Linked DNA regions of Homo sapiens: region 2 is linked to region 1. The links are contacts of gene promoters, found by promoter capture Hi-C in human tissues and cell types (Jung and others, 2019). All regions are on one chromosome and are shown on one strand. Each heading gives the region's core, a stretch centred on a gene start or on the middle of the fragment in contact. The rest is flanking DNA. Distances are from core to core; before and after follow the strand shown. Region 1 overlaps CCAR2 (cell cycle and apoptosis regulator 2). Region 2 holds the start of NUDT18 (nudix hydrolase 18).

Region 1 (5,103 bases), core at 1-2,500:
TAGGTGTGCTACTTACTAGCTGTGCGGCCTCAGTCCATGCCGAGCAAGGGTGCAGGGAATGAGCTAAGGCACAGGAAGCGCTCGGAACAGAGCCCGGGGTAAAGGTGCGCGGTCACGGTAAGCACTATGACAGCCCGAGGTGGCAGGGTACTCACCAGCGGGGCCTCTGACTCTGTAGCCGGGCCCTCATTCTGTGCCTCATCCTTGGGCTCCTTGACCACCTCCTCTTTGATGGCTTCTTCCTCCTTGGTGGCTTCTTCCTTGGCCGCCTCCTCCTTCTCAGGTTCAGGTGGGGACACGACCTTTTCAGGAAGGCTCAGTAGCATCTTATAAACTCTATAGCCAAAATCCCTCTGGAGCATCTCCAGAAACAGCTCGGCCAGCACCATCACCTGATGGGGAGGTGGGAGGGTCCATGAGCATCAGGAAGAAAGACTGCTTCAGGCCCACAAATCCCAGCCCACAGCCTCCCCAAGACTCTTGACACCTGCCTCAAAAGAGATCCTTTCCTTTGGCCTCCGATCCTCCACAATCCCATGGAGGGACAGGTTTACACAGCCAGGGCGTGCGATGACAGCAGGTTCTAGGGGGGGTGGAGGGGCCTCTGGGAGATCAGTGTCCGTTTCCTGCTGTGTGGTGGCCTCTGGAGTTTCTGCGTTCCGTCTAGAAGTGTCTGCTGCTTGCTCCAAGGCATCAGGTGCCTGTTCAGTAGGCTCCGTTTCCTGTGACAACAGCTGAAATGAGACCCTCTGGGTCCCGGGATTAGGCCACCTATATCCCCCGCTGCTGGCTAAGGCACAGCCTTACCCCTTGTGCCTCCTGGGTTGGGGGAGCTGCCTCTGCAGCTTTCTGCTGGCACAGGGCCTCCCACTCCTCCAAAGTAGGCATGATGGTCCAGACATCCGGCAGGTACACCACCACTGTCTGAAGCCGCCGGGGGGGTCCCGGCTGCAGGTACTGAAACTCGGCAAAGCGCCACCTGCACATGGCAAAAGGAGGTACTAACTTCTTTAGTGACAACTCCACGCAGACACCACGTTCACAGGCAAGGGCTTCAGTTTCCAGTCAGCACTCAATGAGCACACACTGCGAACCAAGCTTTGAAGACACAACAGGAAAGCTACAGACCAAGTCCTCAAGAAATGATCAGTCAGTGGGGAGGCCGCAACCACACAAGCACCCTACAAGGTGCAAGGACAACTCCAGGGAGTCTCAAGTGCAGCCTGGTGGCTCAGCCAGATTTTGGCATACACCCCACCCTACCCTGAGGCACCAGAGGGGGAAGGAACGGGACTAGGGGGCAGAGAGCTAACCAGCAGAAAGGGGCAGGGACCGGGCCTTCCCAACAAAACCTCCCCAACCTGGTGCGTTGGTGCAGCTGAGGCTCAGGAAGCCCACTCACCACTTGGTACAGCCGCTCAAATCAATGCCAGTCTGGGCCTGCGCACAGCGGATGGCGGTACGCACCAGCACCTGCGGGTCAGCCTGGGGGTCGAGGCCATCCAGGGAAGGAGACCATTCACCCCCAACCAGCACTGCCTCCTCTTCTTTCCTGCCCAGCAAAAACTGCAAGAAGAGATCAGGGATACAAAACAAAAAACTACATTACCTGGGTCTCCCACTGCAGGGCAAGGCTGCCACCCATCAGGATGAAGGCAGCCGGAAGTGGGGAAGTCCACCACACAGTGAGGTCTCTATCTGCAAACATGAACCAGCCACCTCGCTCTCTCTGACTAGTCGTAACAGCTCTGAGCTGCACCTTCCTCCTGGGTGAAATGAGGGGTGTTCGGCTCTGAGATGCCTCGTTTTATGCATTCAGGAACAGGAGCCGAACACTCAAAACATGACAGGTTGTGCACATTACCCGTGAATGCATCTCCTCCTGCTCTCCAGCTCTTACCTTAATCTGCTTCAGAGGATGCTCTGGCGTCTCCCTTGGCTCAGCCATGTCATCCACAAAGAGCATGCAACAACGATACAATTCCTCCAACCCCGGGGAAGAGAGCAGCAGTACCTGTGCAGGAGGAGACACTCAGAGCTGCCTTCAGCCTCCAGAAATCAGATAAGTGAGAGACGCCTGTCAGCTTACCTTCGAACTATAAGCGGGGTCACTGTCTGCAGTGATGGGCTCAGCACCAGCGTCTGGAGCTGCCTCCTTTTCAGAAGAGACCTGGATCCGGCTTGGATGATGGAGGGAAAAGGGCTGGCTCAGGGGGAAGGCTGATAGCCAACTCAGATGCACGGACAGAAAATCTGAGGGGACCAGGAGGCTGCGGTAACGGCGCTGGAGTTCTAGGAAGTCACAGATGGGGCTACAGGAAGACAGCAAGGGAATCCAGACTGAGCAAAGACTAAAACATTCGAAATGAAACCATCAAAGATTTGAAAAAATGGGCGAATTTTTTTTCAGTCTGAGAACTTTTGAAGTAAGGCACCTCTCAAGGAAGCTAGATCAGATCTGACCACTTAATTTACAAACTCTAGATGGCAAAAGTCAAACTGGGAAAGGGAAAAAAGAAAACACTTATAACACATGACAGAGAAATGGGTCATTGCCTTAATATAAAGGAACTCACAAATCAGTAACAAAAAGTTCAAAAGCCTAAAACGGAAAATTGACATCAATAGGTTCTTAAGAGAAATACATAAGAATTAGAGGCCAGGAAAATATGCTCAATCTCACTTACAATTAAAGAAATGCAAACCACATTATCATGTGTCACCAACTAGACAGACAAAGATGAAAAAGTCGGCTAACAGTGTTGGCAACGGCACGGGGAAATAAGGTCTCCACACCCCACTGGTTAGAGCAGAAGGGGCACAGCCTCTTCAGGAGAACTGGCAATAGCTATGGAAGCTTAAAGCAAAGCCTTTGAGCCAGCTGCTCCATTTCTAGAAATTGATCGCAACAAACACACAGGTGTAGGTAGAAGGATGTTCATTCCAAGAAAATTTAGGATAGAGTGCAAATGGAGAACTGGGTAAATAAATCATGTTCATCCATTCAATGAATACTGTGTAGTTGCTAAAAAAAAAAAAAAAAAAAAAGAACTAGATCTAATAAATGTTCATACGAAATAAAATCTAAAGTACATTCAGTGAAAAGGCAAACCACCAAACAGTATGTACAACAGGTTTCCATGTGCTTTTCGTTTTGTAAGAAAAGGCTGTAAGAACATACATGTGCACTTGCATAGACGCCATCTCATTTACATAAGAAACTATTACCAGCAGCAAGACTCAGCCCACCTCAGCCTCGCCACTCACCTGTCCACAGTGTAAGGAGTGAGGTGGACCCGGTAAGGAGGCAGGTCATGCCTTGGCTTCTTAGCACCCCAGGGCTCTCCACCAGCCCGCTGTTTGCGTTTCTTGGAGTCATAGTCATCACTAGAGGTTGACCCATCACCAACAGTAAGAAACCACATTGTTATATGTATTCAATACAAACTGAACTAAAAGAACTGGAAACAATCGAAATCCCTCACATTCAATAAATGGAAAAAGAATCCATGCTAACAGCCATATGACAGAATGTTATAAAGATATTAAAATGGATATTTACTGTTTTAATAAACATTCCTGTTAAGCAAAAAGCACACTCTGCAACATTGTATACACAGTAGGCCTCAGCTACTGCAAAAACAACTTTAGAAGACTGAAAGGAAATAAAATATTAATGATGGAAGCCTCTGGAAAGCTTACGAATAATTTTCTATTTTTCTGCACTTCATTAATTATAGTTAACGTGATTTTTTTGAAATGAGAAAAAAATGATTTTTCTTTTAAAAACAAGAGACGCATATATGGATCCATGCTATGCGTCCTTTAAAGTAAATTTGGCCGGGCGCGGTGGCTCACGCCTGTGATCCCAGCACTTTGGGAGGCCAAGGCGGGCAGATCACGAGGTCAAGAGATCGAGACCATCCTGGCCAACATGGTGAAACCCCGTCTCTACTAAAAATACAAAAATTAGCTGGGCCTGGTGGTGCGTGCCTGCAGTCCCAGCTACTTGGGAGGGTGAGGCAGGAGAATCGCTTGAACCCAGAAGGTAGAAGTTGCAGTGAGCCAAGGTTGCACCACTGCACTCCAGCCTGGTGACAGAGCAAGACTCCGTCTCAAAAAAAAAAAGTAAATTTTATTAGAAGAGACGGTTACAAGGCTGGGCGCGGTGGCTCACGCCTGTTATCCCAGCACTTAGGGAGGCCGAAGTGGGCGGATCACTTGAGGTCGGGAGTTCAAGACCAGCCTGGCCAACACGGTGAAACCCTATCTCTACTAAAAATACAAAAAAGTAGCCAGGTGTGGTTGCACACGTCTGTAATCCCAGCTACTCGGGAGACTGAGGCAAGGAGAATCGCTTGAACCGGGGAGGCGGAGGTGGCAGTGAGCCGAGATCGCGCCATTCCACTCCAGCCTGGGCAACAAAGCGATACTCTGTCTCACCAAAAAAAAAAAAAAGAGAGACAGTTACAAATCCTTAATAATACACATTAAAGTCATAAAAACACTCAAACCATTTGCTCCAGTAATTACACTCTTGAAAATTTGTCCCAAGAAAGTTAATTCAAAAGAAGAAGAAAGACTACACATAGTGGAAAAATATGAAGCAGCATAAACTGAGAGTAAAAAACCAAATACATACTCAGCAATACCCAAATTTTCATAGTAAATACAAACAATCACGCAGCCATTAAAACACTCAGGATTATGCTGCAATATGGAAAACTGTTTATAAATACACAAAAATAATTTGAACTGTAAGATTAAAATTGCAAAAAGTATGCACATGTATAGATAAAAACTAGAACACAGGAGAAAAGAGTGGCAAGAGATTTTCCTTTTCAAAATTATTTTCTAAAATTCTTTAATACCTACCTGTTAACAACAGTTACCTTTAAAGAGAAAGAAGGTAGAAACCACACATATTTTTACATATATATATACACACACACATATGTATACACACACACATATATACACACATATATACACACACATACACACACACACACACATATATATACTTTTTTTTTTTTTTTTTTTGAGACAGAGTCTTGCTCTGTTGCCCAGGCAGGAATGCAGTGGCGTGATCTCAGCTCACTG
Region 2 (5,103 bases), core at 1,047-3,546, 510 kb after region 1:
TTCTCTCCCAAGGCCTTGGGAACTCCTGCCTCTTTGTTGTCTCAGCACTCCCTTCACAGTTTACAAGAGGCTTTGGGGGAGGGCTTTACCCCCCGGGATAATGGGAGGCGTGGAGCCACGGTTTGCTGCGGTCTTTGCTCTCTGGGCAGTGAGGCCTTCTGTTGTTTACCTTAGGCTGCCTCTGAAGCTCCCAGATCCCTGCCTAGACATGATCTCACTCTCTCAAATCATCCCTGCGAGGCAGACAGGAGTCTGGGTCCAACTTCCCCCACTTCACAGGTGGGAAAACTGAGGGATTCACACATGTGTGTGCCGCAAGACACACACACACACACACACACACACACACACACACACACACACAGAGCAAATATGTTGACAAGTTGCTCTGCAGTCCTGGGGTCCTGTGCCTGCAGTTATTTGGAAGGTGAGAGGTCCATGATAGGGCCTGGCCCAGCGGCGTTCAGCAAGTGCCTCAAAATTCATGGGCCTTCTAGTGATATCCCACAGCCTAACACAGGGCCCTGCCTCCAGGGAGCCTGTGGTCAGTATCAGCAGGTGAGAGGAGCCTAAAGAGATGCATCCTGCGTTGCTGAAGTTCCTGAGTCCAGTTCTAAGGCAGCTCTACAGGCACATTTCGCCAGGCATGGTGGCTCATGCCTGCAACCACAGCACTTTGGAAGGCCAAGGTGGGAGGATCACTGAGGCCAGGAGTTCAAGACCAGCCTGGGCAATACAGCAAGACCCTCGTTTCTACAAAGAATTAAAAATTAAAAATTTAGCCAGGCGTGGTGGTGCACACCTGCAGTCCCAGCTACTCAGGAGTCTGAGGCAGGAGGATGACTCGAATCCAAGAGATCAAGTCTGCAGTAGGAGCTGTGATCACGCCACTGCACCTCCAATCTGAGCAACACAGTGAAACCCTGACTCTAGGGGATAACAAAAGTCACATTTCATGAGGGCAGGCCTTGCGTGTGGTAGCAAGAGCTATGGTGGAGAGGGACCACCCCTGAGGGTTGGTGGGCTGCCTGGGGACGGTGCCCAGTGCTGGACAATCCACACAGCTCCTCTCCAATTGTTGTGGCTTCCCAACACCCCTGTAAAAGAAGAATTGCTATGATCCTGCTCTACAAATAAGAAAATTGAGGCCCACAGCTCACCCAGGAGCACAGAGCAAGCCAGTCAGCAGTGGCTGGCCATCTGGCTGCAGGTCCTGAGCTTTGTCCACACCACCAAGCCACAGTCTCCCTAGCAGGGAGGCGCACAAAACTATCAGAGGCAGAGGAAAGGGGTGGCCTCTGCCAGGTGAGGAGCCAGACGGCCTGCTTCGCAGATCCCTTCCAGCTGGCTTTGCCTTCCAGTGCTGAGGTGGGGTGAAGGAGGAAAGGCCGAGCTGGGAGAGGAGCAGGCGCTCGCCACAACCACCCCCACCCTGCTCTCCACGCGCCAGGTCCTGCACGCTGGGTGGGAGGGTGACGACAAGGATGGAGGAGCAGGGCCCCACCCCCGCCCTCCCAGGGCGCACCATCTGCAGCAGAGAGGGCCTTGAGCTGCGTGGGAAATGCGGTAGGCAGAGGGACACTGATGAGGGTGGGCCGGCTGACGGCAGCCTTCTCTCAGCCCCGGACCCCTCCCGCCATCCCCAGCCCTGCCCCCTCCCTCCTTCCAGCGCCTGTCACTCTTCCTGCCCAAACCAAGCATTTAGCACTTAGCCTCGAACCCTCAGCTGACTCCTCATCTAGGACTCCGTCCATCTCTCCAACTATTGCAGAATCTCCTTCAAGGCAGGGGTTTATGTCCCCCACCCCACGGGCCATGTGACATTTATAACTCTTTGGTGGAATGAGAAGAAAGGTATTTGGGATATGATCAACTCCGGCAATGCCATTGTGTGTTTACGGCAACAGCGGGACAGTGGTTCCAGGGGGCGGCCCCGGGCCTCCGTGACGTCACCGGATTGTCGCGTCACCGTCGCCTACCCCGGCGGCGCAACGCGCCCTGCAGGAAAGATGACGTCACCGTCGGAGCTCCTGCAGACCAGTGCGCGCTCGGGGAGTTGGCGAGCGGGTGGCGGCTGGGAGACGTCCCGAGCGCACGGGACTGACAGGCGGCAGAAGCCGGGCGGGGTCCGCTGGGCTCCGGACCCGTGCCCCCCCAGTTCCAGGGCGGCCCCGGGCGGCCCCGCCCCCTCGGTGAATGCCGCGGGCCGGCCAATCCGGGCAGGCCGCGGCGCCGCGCAGCCTATCAGCGGCCAGAGCTCGCGTGCGCTTCCGCGTTCGCGTGCGCTTCCGCGTTCTCGTGAGCTCCCGGCCCGCTGCCGCAGGGACTGGGAGCGGGCTCCGCAGCGCACTCTAGCCCGCGGCTCGGCTCAGTCGGTCTGCGAGGATCCGGCCCGCCGCCCCCCGGGGGACCCGATGGCCTCGGAGGGCCTGGCGGGGGCGCTGGCTTCCGTGCTGGCTGGCCAGGGGTCCAGCGTGCACAGCTGCGACTCGGCGCCGGCCGGGGAGCCGCCGGCGCCCGTGCGGCTGCGGAAGAACGTGTGCTACGTGGTGCTGGCCGTGTTCCTCAGCGAGCAGGTGAGCGGCCGCCCCCGGGCCCGCCGGGCCTCGGGAGCGCGCAGCCAGCCCAGGTGGGGACAGAAGACCCAACGGCCACAGCCAGCGCTGCCGCGTGCGTGGCGCTTCCCAGTTTTGCAAAGCACTCCCACTCCCACTCGCATCTGTGTCCTGCGTTCGTCCCGATATGCAGAAGAGGAAACTGAGGCCCGGGGCCTGTTTGTCTCATCCGACTAGGCCTCATTCCTTCCCTTCCCCAGAGTCTAGCGGAGTGCCCAGGGCCCCTCAGATAGCAGTGGCTCAATCCCGGCTTACCTTCAGGCCTTTGGTGCTGATGCCTGTAGTGGGCGATGTAATGACAACTAGACGGGGCCAGGGCCATAGGGCGGGGTTGTACAGAGCGGAGGTGGGGGTCGTGTTTCAAGCCAGACCCCAGTGTGAGGACCCATCACAGTTTGTAAACCACGCCGTTGGAGGCGAGAGATACACAGTGGCAGGTACAGACGCAAATCAATCCAAGACAGACAGACACATGGTGACCCTCACTCTGGGGCCTCATCTCCAGCCCCTGAAGCGGCTTCCAGGAATCTCAGCCCTTCCTGAAATGGAAGTCTTCCTAAATCCAGAGAGAGACGAATTGCAGAGAGGAGAGGGCTGCAGCCCCCAGCGACACGAGGGCAGGTCTCCTGGAGCGCTAGCTGGGTTGAGAGTGTCCACCCAGAGGGGAGTCTTGGGCGACTGTGTTTGAGATGCCCCCTGGTCCCGGGGCGAGGGAAGGCTGTGGCAGGAAGTGAGGATCCTCTCTCCTCTCAGGATGAGGTGCTACTGATCCAGGAGGCCAAGAGGGAGTGCCGGGGGTCGTGGTACCTGCCTGCGGGGAGAATGGAGCCAGGGGAGACCATCGTGGAGGCGCTGCAGCGGGAGGTGAAGGAGGAGGCGGGGCTGCACTGTGAGCCCGAGACACTGCTGTCCGTGGAGGAGCGGGGCCCCTCCTGGGTCCGCTTCGTGTTCCTCGCTCGCCCCACAGGTATGGCCCACCTGGAGGCAGTGTGAACAGGGCCAGTTGACACCTTTCCCCCAGCTCCTCGGTGAGGTGAGCCCCTCTACAGCCAGTCCTGTTATGGCTGGCACAGCCTGGCATGGGCAGATTCCAGCCTTTGGGCTGGGGGCCTCTCTCCTGGGTCAGGGATGTCTGTTGACTCTGCCAGAGCTGCACTTCTCTCCACACAGACCCTCCCTGCCCCATCCCCCACATCTCCCCCAGGTGGAATTCTCAAGACTTCCAAGGAGGCCGATGCGGAGTCCCTGCAGGCTGCCTGGTACCCACGGACCTCCCTGCCCACTCCGCTGCGAGCCCATGACATCCTGCACCTGGTTGAACTAGCCGCCCAGTATCGCCAGCAAGCCAGGCACCCTCTCATTCTGCCCCAAGAGCTACCCTGTGATCTGGTCTGCCAGCGGCTCGTGGCTACCTTTACCAGCGCCCAGACAGTGTGGGTGTTAGTGGGCACAGTGGGGATGCCTCACTTGCCTGTCACTGCCTGTGGCCTCGACCCTATGGAGCAGAGGGGTGGCATGAAGATGGCCGTCCTGCGGCTGCTGCAGGAGTGTCTGACCCTGCACCACTTGGTGGTGGAGATCAAGGGGTTGCTTGGACTGCAGCACCTGGGCCGAGATCACAGTGATGGCATCTGTTTGAATGTGCTGGTGACCGTGGCTTTTCGGAGCCCAGGGATCCAGGATGAACCCCCAAAAGTTCGGGGTGAGAACTTCTCTTGGTGGAAGGTGATGGAGGAAGACCTGCAAAGCCAGCTCCTCCAGCGGCTTCAGGGATCCTCTGTTGTCCCAGTGAACAGATAGAGAGGTGGGGGAGGTGACAGGGAGCTAGGCAGCCGTGCTCCCTCCAGTGCGGACTTGTCTCCCTCTGAGGGAGGCAAGAGGCTGGCGATCAGGGATCTTGTTGCATTGGGAGCAGGGGCGGCTCTCCTGGTCCCCAGGAGAGATGCTTTGAGGAGCATTCCTCTAGATTGCACAAGGGACAGTGCCTTTAACCAAGCGAGGAGTCCAAAGCTCAGGACCTGACTACCCTGAGGGCACGCTGACGCCTCTTCCCAGGGGGATGGGGAGCTTTCTGCACCCCCAGTGGCATCTCCTCATCACGTTCTGTGCCGTCCTTGGGAAAGGCCTGCATTCTGATCCTTCCAGGCCCTTCGAGCATGGAGGGGCACTGGGGAAGGTCCCCCGAGGGAGGAGCACGTTGCTGAGTAAAGAGGTGTTACTCACCTTGCCTCCCTGCCTACACGTCTCTGTGGGGAGAAAGTGATGGGGACTACTGTCCAGGAGCTGCTGCTCCCCTCGTGTTACCCACAGGCACCCATGCCTTTCCCAGTGCACTGACAGTGCGGGCCAGTCTGCTGTCCAGCACGGCCCCTGGGGCTCCCTCCAGTTGGCCTGCTGGCCCGGGATGTGACTCTGAGGGGACCCATCCCTAATGAAACACAGCTCTGAGCCCTCCAAGGGTTGGGCAGTGGGCGGCCCCAGAGGAACT

The links. Contacts are between HindIII fragments. The study calls those that stand out against the background at their distance.
Region 2: the fragment with the promoter of NUDT18 here is called in contact with a fragment that was not itself captured in region 1 in 1 of the 25 tissues and cell types used here (dorsolateral prefrontal cortex).

The regions. Positions count from the first base shown.
Region 1 is chr8:22,611,301-22,616,403 of GRCh38, reverse strand. CCAR2 (cell cycle and apoptosis regulator 2) reads right to left here. Exons shown (of 21, transcript NM_001393997.1): 8 at 3,268-3,387; 9 at 2,090-2,312; 10 at 1,901-2,014; 11 at 1,403-1,566; 12 at 808-979; 13 at 492-722; 14 at 156-392. Among named protein-coding and RNA genes, the nearest start is that of CCAR2, 9.1 kb to the right of the region's middle. The HindIII fragment of the contact is 7,299 bases long and covers 1-4,899 here.
Region 2 is chr8:22,106,612-22,111,714 of GRCh38, reverse strand. NUDT18 (nudix hydrolase 18) reads left to right here and starts at 2,296. Exons shown (of 3, transcript NM_024815.4): 1 at 2,296-2,576; 2 at 3,369-3,582; 3 at 3,820-4,837. The coding sequence starts at 2,415. The coding sequence ends at 4,415. RefSeq lists a silencer at 1,943-2,722, enhancers at 3,182-3,955, 4,352-4,496 and a cis regulatory region at 4,424. The HindIII fragment of the contact is 26,002 bases long and covers 1-5,103 here.